Regions from separate parts of the Homo sapiens genome. Here region 1 is linked to region 2. Evidence: promoter capture Hi-C in human tissues and cell types (Jung and others, 2019). All regions are on one chromosome and are shown on one strand. Each heading gives the region's core, a stretch centred on a gene start or on the middle of the fragment in contact. The rest is flanking DNA. Distances are from core to core; before and after follow the strand shown.

The links. The method cuts DNA at HindIII sites, captures the fragments that hold promoters and counts their contacts. A contact is called where the count stands out against the background at its distance.
Region 1: the fragment with the promoter of SLC35A3 here is called in contact with a fragment that was not itself captured in region 2 in 1 of the 25 tissues and cell types used here (mesendoderm cells).

What each region holds. Positions count from the first base shown.
Region 1 is chr1:99,967,485-99,972,371 of GRCh38, forward strand. It overlaps SLC35A3 (solute carrier family 35 member A3), which reads left to right and starts at 2,512. Exons shown (of 8, transcript NM_012243.3): 1 at 2,512-2,678. All of the region lies in intron 1 of LOC124904230 (a long non-coding RNA gene), which reads right to left. RefSeq lists enhancers at 1,992-2,041, 2,102-2,151, 2,872-2,961 and a silencer at 2,552-2,751. The HindIII fragment of the contact is 9,355 bases long and covers 1-4,887 here.
Region 2 is chr1:100,460,812-100,465,502 of GRCh38, forward strand. CDC14A (cell division cycle 14A) reads left to right here. Exons shown (of 16, transcript NM_003672.4): 9 at 1,840-2,070. Among named protein-coding and RNA genes, the nearest start is that of GPR88, 75 kb to the right of the region's middle. RefSeq lists enhancers at 1,337-1,958, 3,237-3,326. The HindIII fragment of the contact is 3,820 bases long and covers 1-3,420 here.

The DNA of each region.
Region 1 (4,887 bases), core at 1,262-3,761, 490 kb before region 2:
AATAGATTATGGTGGTAAATCAGGTTATAGTGGCAAAACAAGTTACGGGAGGGACAGAAGCAGAGGCCTGACTAACAAAGGTGGGTAGCAGCCCTCAGAGAGAATAGATGGTGGAAGTTTCTTTCAGACCTTTAAAAGTGTCAGAATCTCAGTAAATCTTTCCTAGATCTGGACAAGGAAGGGCCTCAGAGAAAGCCTGGCTACATTAATGCAGATTCTCCACAGATGCAAATCTGCCCTACAAGAGACAGTTTTGCAGGGCTACTGGGCTACTTTTTTTTTTTTTTTTTTTTTGAGACAGGGTCTTGCTCTATCAGCCAGGCTGGAGTACAGTAGCATGATCATGGCTTAATGTGGCCTTGAACTCCTGGGATCAAGTGATCGTCCCACCTCAGCCTCCCTCATGAGTAGCTAGGACTAAAGGCATGTACCATTATGACTGGTACATGTTTAAATTTTTATTTTTTGTAGTGATGGGATCTCAATATGTTGCTCAGGCTGGTCGCGATCTCCTGGGCTCAAGCAATCCGCTGGCCTCAGCCTCCCAAAGTCTTGGGATTACAAGCGTGAGCCACCACATCTGGCCTGCAAAGGCTACTTCTGATTGCAGGCCCTCTAAACAGTCATCTCAAAATATGTCAAAGTAGTATATTTTGGGGTAAAATATTTTGATTTCCTTCAAAGCCATTGTAGGGTTAATAATTGGCCTAATTTCAATATTGCTGTTTATTGGGAAATAGGGAGGCCCAAGGGGGAGAAGTGTGGGGAAATGGGCAGTTGGTGGAGTAGTCAGAACACACATAACATTTATTAATTAAGTTTGCCTTTCTATATGAGTGCAGTACATGGCACCTGTATTAGTCCATTTTCATGGTGCTGATAAAGACATACCCGAGACTGGGAAGAAAAAGAAGTTTAATTGGACCTACAGTTCCACATGGCGGGGGAGGCCTCAGAATCATGGCGGGAGGTGAAAGGTACTTGCTTACATGGCTGCAGCAAGAGAAAAATGAGGAAGAAGCAAAATCAGAAACCCCAGATAAACCCATCGGATTTCATGAGACTTATTCACTATCATGAGAATAGCACAGGAAAGACTGGCCCCCATGATTCAATTATCTCCCCCTAGGTCTCTCCCTCAACACGTGGGAATTCTGGGAGATACAGTTCAAGTTGAGATTTGGGTGGGGACACAGCCAAACCATATCAGCACCCCAAAACAATTACCATAGTAACATCAAAGATCATTGATCACAAAGCACTATACCAGATATAATAATGATGAACAAATTTAAATATTGCAAAAATTATTGAATATTATGTGACACAGAGACACAAAGTGAGCACATGCTGTTGGAAAAATGGCACCAATAGATGTGCTTGAGGCAAGGTTGCCACAAACCTTCAATTTGTAAAAAAAAAAAACAAAAAAACAAAAGCAATGTCTGTGAAGAGCAATAAAGCAAATCACAATAAAACGAGGCATGCTGTTATCATCATCTAACAGGCACATTTTGGTTTCAAAAAAAACTGGGCATGTATTAAGATCTAATATGTATTTTACCATCCAGGAATTTTCTCAAGACTGTATTGCAGAAAATTTTAAAACCAGTTATTCTACTCTAATACAGTTACTTATTTTTCTTCAATATCACTTTTTTTCTAAGTATGTCTCTCTTGGACATGGTTTTAATCATTTGCAATATAAAGAGACATAGGCTTAATTTATAGCAGCCCTGAGTTAACAAAAAGAGATAATCCTATTCGCTTATTTGATAATCCAGCTGAACCTGAAGTACTGATTTCAGCCTGTTCATCACCTGAATGGGCTGCCGTGGTTAGAGGGTTTCCAACACAGCTACTGGAACACTTTTAAAAGGTAATGCTGTGATCCATGCAGCCAGGAAGGGGTTGGTCCCTCATAACTCTGCAATCCTCTGGGCCCAGTTTTCTTTTTCCTCTCCCGGTTGATGACACTAGGCCCATTGGTGGTACGGCTTTGGGTTTCCTTCAGTCTCAAGATCTCAGTCAGGGTGGGTGAAGTGGAAGAACAAGCCTTCTTGCAGACCACTGGTTGGTTGGCAGCCTTTGCCATAGCTAATCTGGTTGTTTTCAGGTCAGTGACAGTCACTTTTAGGAGAGGGTTCGTTTGCTTTCAAAATCCATCTCCCCGTTCCTCTCAGGGTTCTTTGCCCCAAAGGACTTTGCCCTTCCTTACGCAGTGGACACCTTGGCACCCTCTGCAAACAGACAGTCCCGCAGAGGCCCTCGACGAGTGTCACTCCATCTGTTTCGCGCTCCTAGGAGAGGTGTAGCAGAAAGCAGTGCCCCAGGCCTCCACGCGACGGTGAAGCAGGAACCAGGGGCTGCCAGCAGAGCAGCCCAGGTGCGTCGCCTTAGGGACAGAGCTGCCAAGTGCCGAGCTGGGGCTGCCAGAGCCGAGCCGGGAACGGCATTTGCCAGAGCCGAGGCGGAAGCCGGAGCATTTGGGGGACGGGACCGCGGGAACCCGGAAACGCCTGGGCTGCACCGAGCTGGCGGTGGCTACGGCGACGGGAGCCGGCGGCGCTGCGGGTCAGCGGTCGCGTAGGACCCAGCGGACTCGGCAGCCTGGGGCGCCCGGCGGAGCTGAACCGCGGCCCCCGGTGGTGGGCTCAGCCGGTCGAGCTGCGCGGGAGGTGAGTCCTCAGCGCACCTGGGGAGGGGCGGGAACCAGGAGGCTAGCGGCTGCGGGGCGGCCCGGGAAGCTCCTGGAGGAGGAGGAAGAGGAGGCATGCGAGGGGGCTGATGTGAAGTCTGTAGGGGTGAAGGGGACGGTATCGAAGACCTGAAATACAGTGCTAGCTAAGTAGGGGTGGGAGCAGATGAGGTGACACGTTGTAACTCCGACGGACGACGTGCGGAATGTACTGGGTGGAGGAGGAAAAAAGGCCCGAGGAGAGGGGTGTGTCAAGCGAATGAAGACGGCAGTGTGTGCCTCAGCGCCTGGTGCGTGCGGAGCTAGTGACGGGTGGGCCCGGCTGGGGCCCGTCATTCCTTCAGTGAACATCCCATGAGCTCTCGCTCGGTGTTGAGCCCTGTGGTAGGCACAGATGCACCCGACCAGCACCTGGAGCTCAAGAAGCCGCAGGAACTTAAAGAAATGGAAAGGCTGCCCTTGGTAAGGCTAGTAAGAACACAAGGACTGTTTGAAGTGGGGTGAGATTCTCATCAGAACAGGTGTGTGGGTGCATTGCTTTATAGTAAAAGACGATCTTTTATTATGTTCTCTTAAATGCAGTATTTGAAAATTAAGTCTTTTCGTTTTTGAAATCAACATTCGACTTTAGTAGTTAAAGATGAAATTTGGTGCAGTTTCTTACTTGGTGTTCTTATTCACTTTCACTGGTAAACTCAGGGTGTTTCAAGGGAATGACTTGTAAACTTATATTTCTGAGGCTAACTTTCCTCCCAACTGTTGATTCTATCTCTTCAGCATCTCAAATTTAGTTCTCCCCTTTTTCATTCCCACTACCTGTCTGCTAAATATGCTCGTCTTTCCTCTTCTTACTTGCACTATAGCAATAACTTCCAAACTGGACTTGTCCTCAGCCTGGCACCCTTCCAGTCACTTGCCTCCATATTACTTTTAAAGCCAAAGATCTTATGACTTTCTTTTTTTGGTTATTCCTTCCTCAGAAATACGCAGTGACTCTCGATCGGCTTCAGAATAAAATGTAAATTATTTAGGGAGGCATTTAATAAATTTTATATTATTTAGGGAGGCTTCAGATTTTTCCTTCAGAATTTGAGTCTGACGGTGGCTCCAGTAAAATCAATATGATTCTTTTTTTTTTTTTTTAGACGGAGTCTCGCTCTGTCGCCCAGGCTGGAGTGCAGTGGCGCAATCTCAGCTCACTGCAAGCTCCGCCTCCCGGGTTCATGCCGTTCTCCTGCCTCAGCCTCCTGAGTAGCTGGGACTACAGGCGCCCGCCGCCACGCCCGGCTAATTTTTTTGTATTTTTAATAGAGACGGGGTTTCACCATGTTAGCCAGGATGGTCTCGATCTCCTGACCTCGTGATCCACCCACCTCGGCCTCTCAAAGTGCTGGGATTACAGGCGTGAGCCACCGCACCCGGCCCCCAATATGATTCTTTCTTTTTTCCTTTTATTAAACAAGTATTACTTTTTTCCACATATCCTATTTTTTAGCCAAACTAGTCGTTAATTAGACGTCCAGTTTCTGAACATGCTATATGCCTGTCAGCCTTGGTGTTTGCTTTTATCATTTCTTCCTACAAAGAAGAAACAAGGAAGGCCTTCCTTGCTGTCTTTGTAGAAATTCTACTTATTCTTCAATTCCTTAAATGCCATCTCTTTCTTATGCAGCTTTCTGAAATCTGCCATAAATCCAGTTCATTCTTTTTTTCTTTTTCTTTTTCTCTTTTTTTGAGAGAGTTTTGCTCTTGTTGCCCAGGCTGGAGTTCAATGTTGCGATCTCGGCTCACTGCAACCTCCGTCTCCCGGGTTCAAGCGATTCTCCTGCCTCAGCCTCCTGAAGTAGCTGGGATTACAGGTGCCCGCCACCACACCCAGCCAATTTTTTTGTAGTTTTAGTTGAGACGGGGTTTCACCATGTTGGCCAGGCTGGTCTTGAACTCCTGACCTCAGGTGATCCACCTGCCTCGACATCCCAAAGTGTTGGGATTACAGGCATGAGCCACTACGCCCAGCCCATTTTTTTTTCTTCATGTGTGCTGGGCTTTATAAATCTTACAACACTTGTTAAATTTGCATTGTAATTTGAGAGTTCTATTATCCCTACTGTAATGTAAGCTTCCTAAGGAAAGCATTTGTACTTACTACTTTTTTTTTTTTTTTTTTTGAGATGGAGTCTTGCTCTGTC
Region 2 (4,691 bases), core at 261-2,760:
TTGGTCCTGCCTTCCAATTCTGTCTTCATCCTTTGTGTGACCTGGCCAAGTGTACCAGTTATGGCTGTCCAACTCTGGTAAAAGGCAGTTTTTGGAATATGTTGGGTAGCTCATAGACTTTAAGAAAAGGCTGGAGAACTAGGCTTAGAAGATGAACAGGACCCAAGTGGGAAAATGGGAACCACACTAGGCATTTCAAACATAAAGCATTTAATACAAGGAGTTTATTTCAAAGAAGACTAAAAAGTAAAAAGGCAACACTGAAGAAACCAGAATATGTTGGAGAAAACAGCTAGTACCTTTAAGGCTGGGGGGACAAAAGGGACAAAAGTGGAGTTAGCAGAACCTGCTCCTGTTTTCTGCTGCTGAAGTGATGCTGCCAGGAGGACAGGAAGAATTCCCTTCCTCCTCCTCAGGTTGAGGTTTAGTGCCTCCCATTTTTACAACCAATAGGAAGCCAGATAGAAAGGTAGTCTGGGAAATGTAGGGCGTAGTATATGGACTCCAGCCCCAGTGTCACAGAGCATAAGAGTCGGCTTGGAGCTGAGAGCTGACTAGCATAACAGGGATCCAAGGCAGCAAGAAATACAGCCAAGCACACAGCGTGGAAACAGTCTGGTTCACTTTGCTGGCTGCCGCCACCCCTGGAACCTCCCATCATGAATGGGTTCCAACTGAGATAATTGCACTCAGCTGGTATGTTAGGGTTCAGTGAATTCTGAATGGGTTACAGATGTGGCCATCAGTGTGCTGGGAACTTAGTCCCCTGAACTTTTGGAGCTGCCATTGCAAGGCCTGCAAAGGCCAAAGCCCCCAGTGGTTGCCTTGGCTGATTAGCTAAGGCTAGGTCTGTAACCCAGCTGACTGTGTAGCTCCCAGGAATACTCACATGATGGTGGAGCCACTCAAAAATAAAAGGGGATTTAAAGGTGGAGCATCTTCCTCCCTCAAAAAAAGGAAGTGTCCACAAAAGTTATTGTTTATTTTTAACTAAAAAAATTTATATTTTAATTGATAAAAATTATATATTTATGGTGTACAACAACTTTTGAAATATGTATACATCGTAGAATGGTTAAGTCAAGTCTTACTTAAGTATTCACATATTTATCATTTTTTGTGGTGAGAAGACTTAAATTTTACTTTCTAAATGACTTTAAAGTATATAATACATTGTTATTATAGTCACTATGTTGTACAATAGATCTCTGGGACATACTCCTTTCTAACTGAAATTTTGTTTTCTTTGACCAATATCCTCCCAACACCCCCTCTTTTAGTTTCTTAATCTGTTAAATGGAATTAGCCATACTTAAGAGATGGTTTTGAGAATTTGAAATGATACGCAATTGTGACTTGTACATAGTAGGTGCTTAATAATAATTGCTTCTGGGGAGCATTGTACTACAAATTAAAACTATACATATGGCAAAAAAGCTTCAGCTGTAGTTGAAAACTGTTTGTCAAGTAGAGAATAAAGCTCAAGAGAGAATAAAGTCACCATTCTAGGTCTGTTATGCACATTTGATTACTTCAAGAATGCTTTTGTCTTGGGAGTGGGAAGAGTATGCTCCCAGGATTCGAATCTAGAGGTTGAGATTTTGAACTTTAATGATGTATTTTCAGTACTTACAGAAGTTTTCTTTTTAACCTCCTGTGGTGCTTACAGTTATGCAGATTGATGCTTGTAGGAGCTTGCTGTGACCTCTTCTCTCACACAACACACTTTCCTCCCAAGCTTTGTTGAGATTTATACACTTCATTGTTGAGAGTTTTGTATTTCTGGGTTGTGGAAGATGAAATGCATGCCTTTTGCTTACTGCTCCTTTGTTCCTTTAGGTTATCCTCTTCACGCCCCTGAAGCCTACTTTCCTTATTTCAAAAAGCATAATGTGACTGCAGTTGTGAGGCTAAACAAAAAGATTTATGAGGCAAAGCGCTTCACAGACGCTGGCTTCGAGCACTATGACCTCTTCTTCATAGATGGCAGCACACCCAGTGACAACATCGTGCGAAGGTTCCTGAACATCTGTGAGAACACCGAAGGGGCCATCGCCGTTCACTGCAAAGGTGTGTGCAAGGCCTCGGTGGTGGTGGCTGTGCTTATCGAAGGGGCGGGCCAAGGAAGAGCAAATAACATAAAACAAAACCTGTTTAGTGTCTTAGAAAAACAATGAGGTTTTAAATTTCAGACAACTGGGACACAAACTCATTTTAATAACCCCTTCTTAAAGAAACGATTGCTTGGGTGTGGACAATTGGTGGTGGTGTGGCTTTCTTGATATGCCAGTTTTTCAGACCTTACCTTTCCAGGCCCACGTGCCACAATGAGGGGAAACACAGTAGCAGTGTCTTTAGGCTGCAGGAACACCTTTAAACAGGTAAAATTCTCAAGAGACAAGGGTTGTTAGTTTTCCTCTCTCCTTTGTTTTTTTTCAGAATTGCCCATCTCTTCTCCATCCTCTTGCACTGTCGTGGTTCTGTTTTATGACCCAGTTATCTGGACCCCCATTCCAGTCTCTGCTTTTCCCTCCCCTCCTAGTCTTTGGCTTCATGGAGCAGAGCGTCTTCCATGCCTGTTGCTAGGGGCAATCCGCTAGCTTACAATGCTGCTGATGTGATGCTGCCTCATGGAATAAACTTAAAGAGTTTGTTTTGCAAAAATCTCTGATCTCTGGGGGTGGATACTTTGGGGCAGGAATTGTTCAGACTATAGAAGGTTTAGGATTGCCAGATTTAGCAAATAAAAATACAGGCTGCCTAATTAAATTTGAAAGTTAGATAAACAATGAATACTTTTAAAACAAAAAGTATAAATATGTCCCAAATATTGCAGGGAACATGCATTCTGTATTTTATCTGGCAACCCCATGTCAGCTACTCAGAAAATATGACATGCCATTTGCTCTAAGCTTGTTTGACTTCGAGGAGGCTTAAAATCCACTCCATTCCAGATCTTTCGGTATGGATAATACTGGAAATATTCCAGATATTTTACTGGGTCTTTGATTTCAGCGAGGAGAAATCACTAGGGCCGCCCTGGGCTGGAGCCTCGAGTTCCTCATGTGCAGCTCCTCCTAGTGTCGCTGGGTGGTGCTGTGCTTATGGTTTTGGGTCTAGACCCGGTTTCCCTCTCATTTTATGCTAATCATCTAGTAGGTGTTGGGGAGGGTGCTGTTCTTTTCATGTGCCTAGTGCTGCTGTAACTGACTTATTCAGACGAGTATGGCTTTGGTTCTGACAGAAATTAAAATGCCGTTTTGTAGGCCCTTGTTTCTATGTTTAAGATTTGAGTAGGTGGAGGTACTTTGTGAACATGTGAGCAAAAATGGGAAGCTGCGGTTTCCCAGAGACCCAGAGAGATGGAAATGAGCAGCACGTGGCCTGGGTTTGGAGCAGGGCTCCCCATGCCAGGCTCCCTCCTCCTGGGTGGGCAGAGCTCTCCCTCCCCACCCTCCCCATTAGCTAGCAGGATGGGCCCTGGCTTTGTGGGATATCTTGTCTCTGGCGTGGAGTCTGTTAGGAAGGTGTCACTTGCTGGCTCATTTGTGGGTGCTGCTTTCAGGCCACAGTGGGGTGCCAGTGTGTTGGCTTGTCCCCATGTGATTCATTTGCACCCTGTTTGCTTTTCCATTGCATTTTGTTCAGTATTGCCCAGGTCCAAGAAAAAGCCCACATGTCACGTATTTTAAACAGCAATAGAACTTGAGAGCTAATGGGAACGTTTATATCAACGTTTAGCAGGAGATAATCCTATCTTCTCTTTCAAACTTTAGTTTTGTGCCATAAAAATTGTATTTTTTCCTGAGATTAATTTGGCCTTATTTCTTAGTTCAAGTAGTTTTATTATTACTACGTCGTAGAGTTTATCTGTGGATTAGCCATCCGTATCTTGGATTGACACATTCAAAGGAGAAGAACTGCAAAGCTTTCATTAAAACTCAGTGTGTTTCTTGATAGTATTTCTCACCTGAGAGACCTTGTGCAAAGAAAACTCTCTGGTGTTAAACATTCTTATTACAGATATTTTCTCTATATCCTTGACCTGTGAATGTTTACCTTTTAAAAAATATATGTATTTATTTTATATTGCAAATTTCTTTTCTTTTCTTTTCTTTTTTTTTTTTTTTGAGACAAAGAGTCTCGCTCTGTCACCCAGGCTGGAGTGCAATGGTGCGATCTCAGCTCACTGCAGCCTCTGCCTCCCAGGTTCAATCAATTCTCCTGCCTCAGCCTCCCAAGTATCTGGAATTACAGGTGCCCACCACCACTCCTGGCTAATTTTTTATATTTTTAGTAGAGATGGGGTTCTGCTGGCCAGAACTGGTCTTGAACTCCTAACCTCAGGAGAATGTTGGCCAGGCTGGTCTTGAACTCCTGACCTCAGGTCATCCACCTGCCTCAGCCTCCCAAAGTGCGGGGATTACAGGTGTGAGCCACCGTACCCAGTCTGTATTGTAGATGTTTTTATTTTAAATCAGAACCTTTAACATTGAAGTCAGTTCTTGTATAGGATAGTCACATTTACATGTGGTAATATCTTTTTGAGATTGTTATTTCATTTTCTTCCACTTGCACACACACGTAGGATTCTTTTATAAGGATTACACCTTTGGTTTAATTACAGCTGTATTGCTTTTCACAGCATACTTATCTACTATAGGCTTATTAATTATTTTGACATCTGCCCT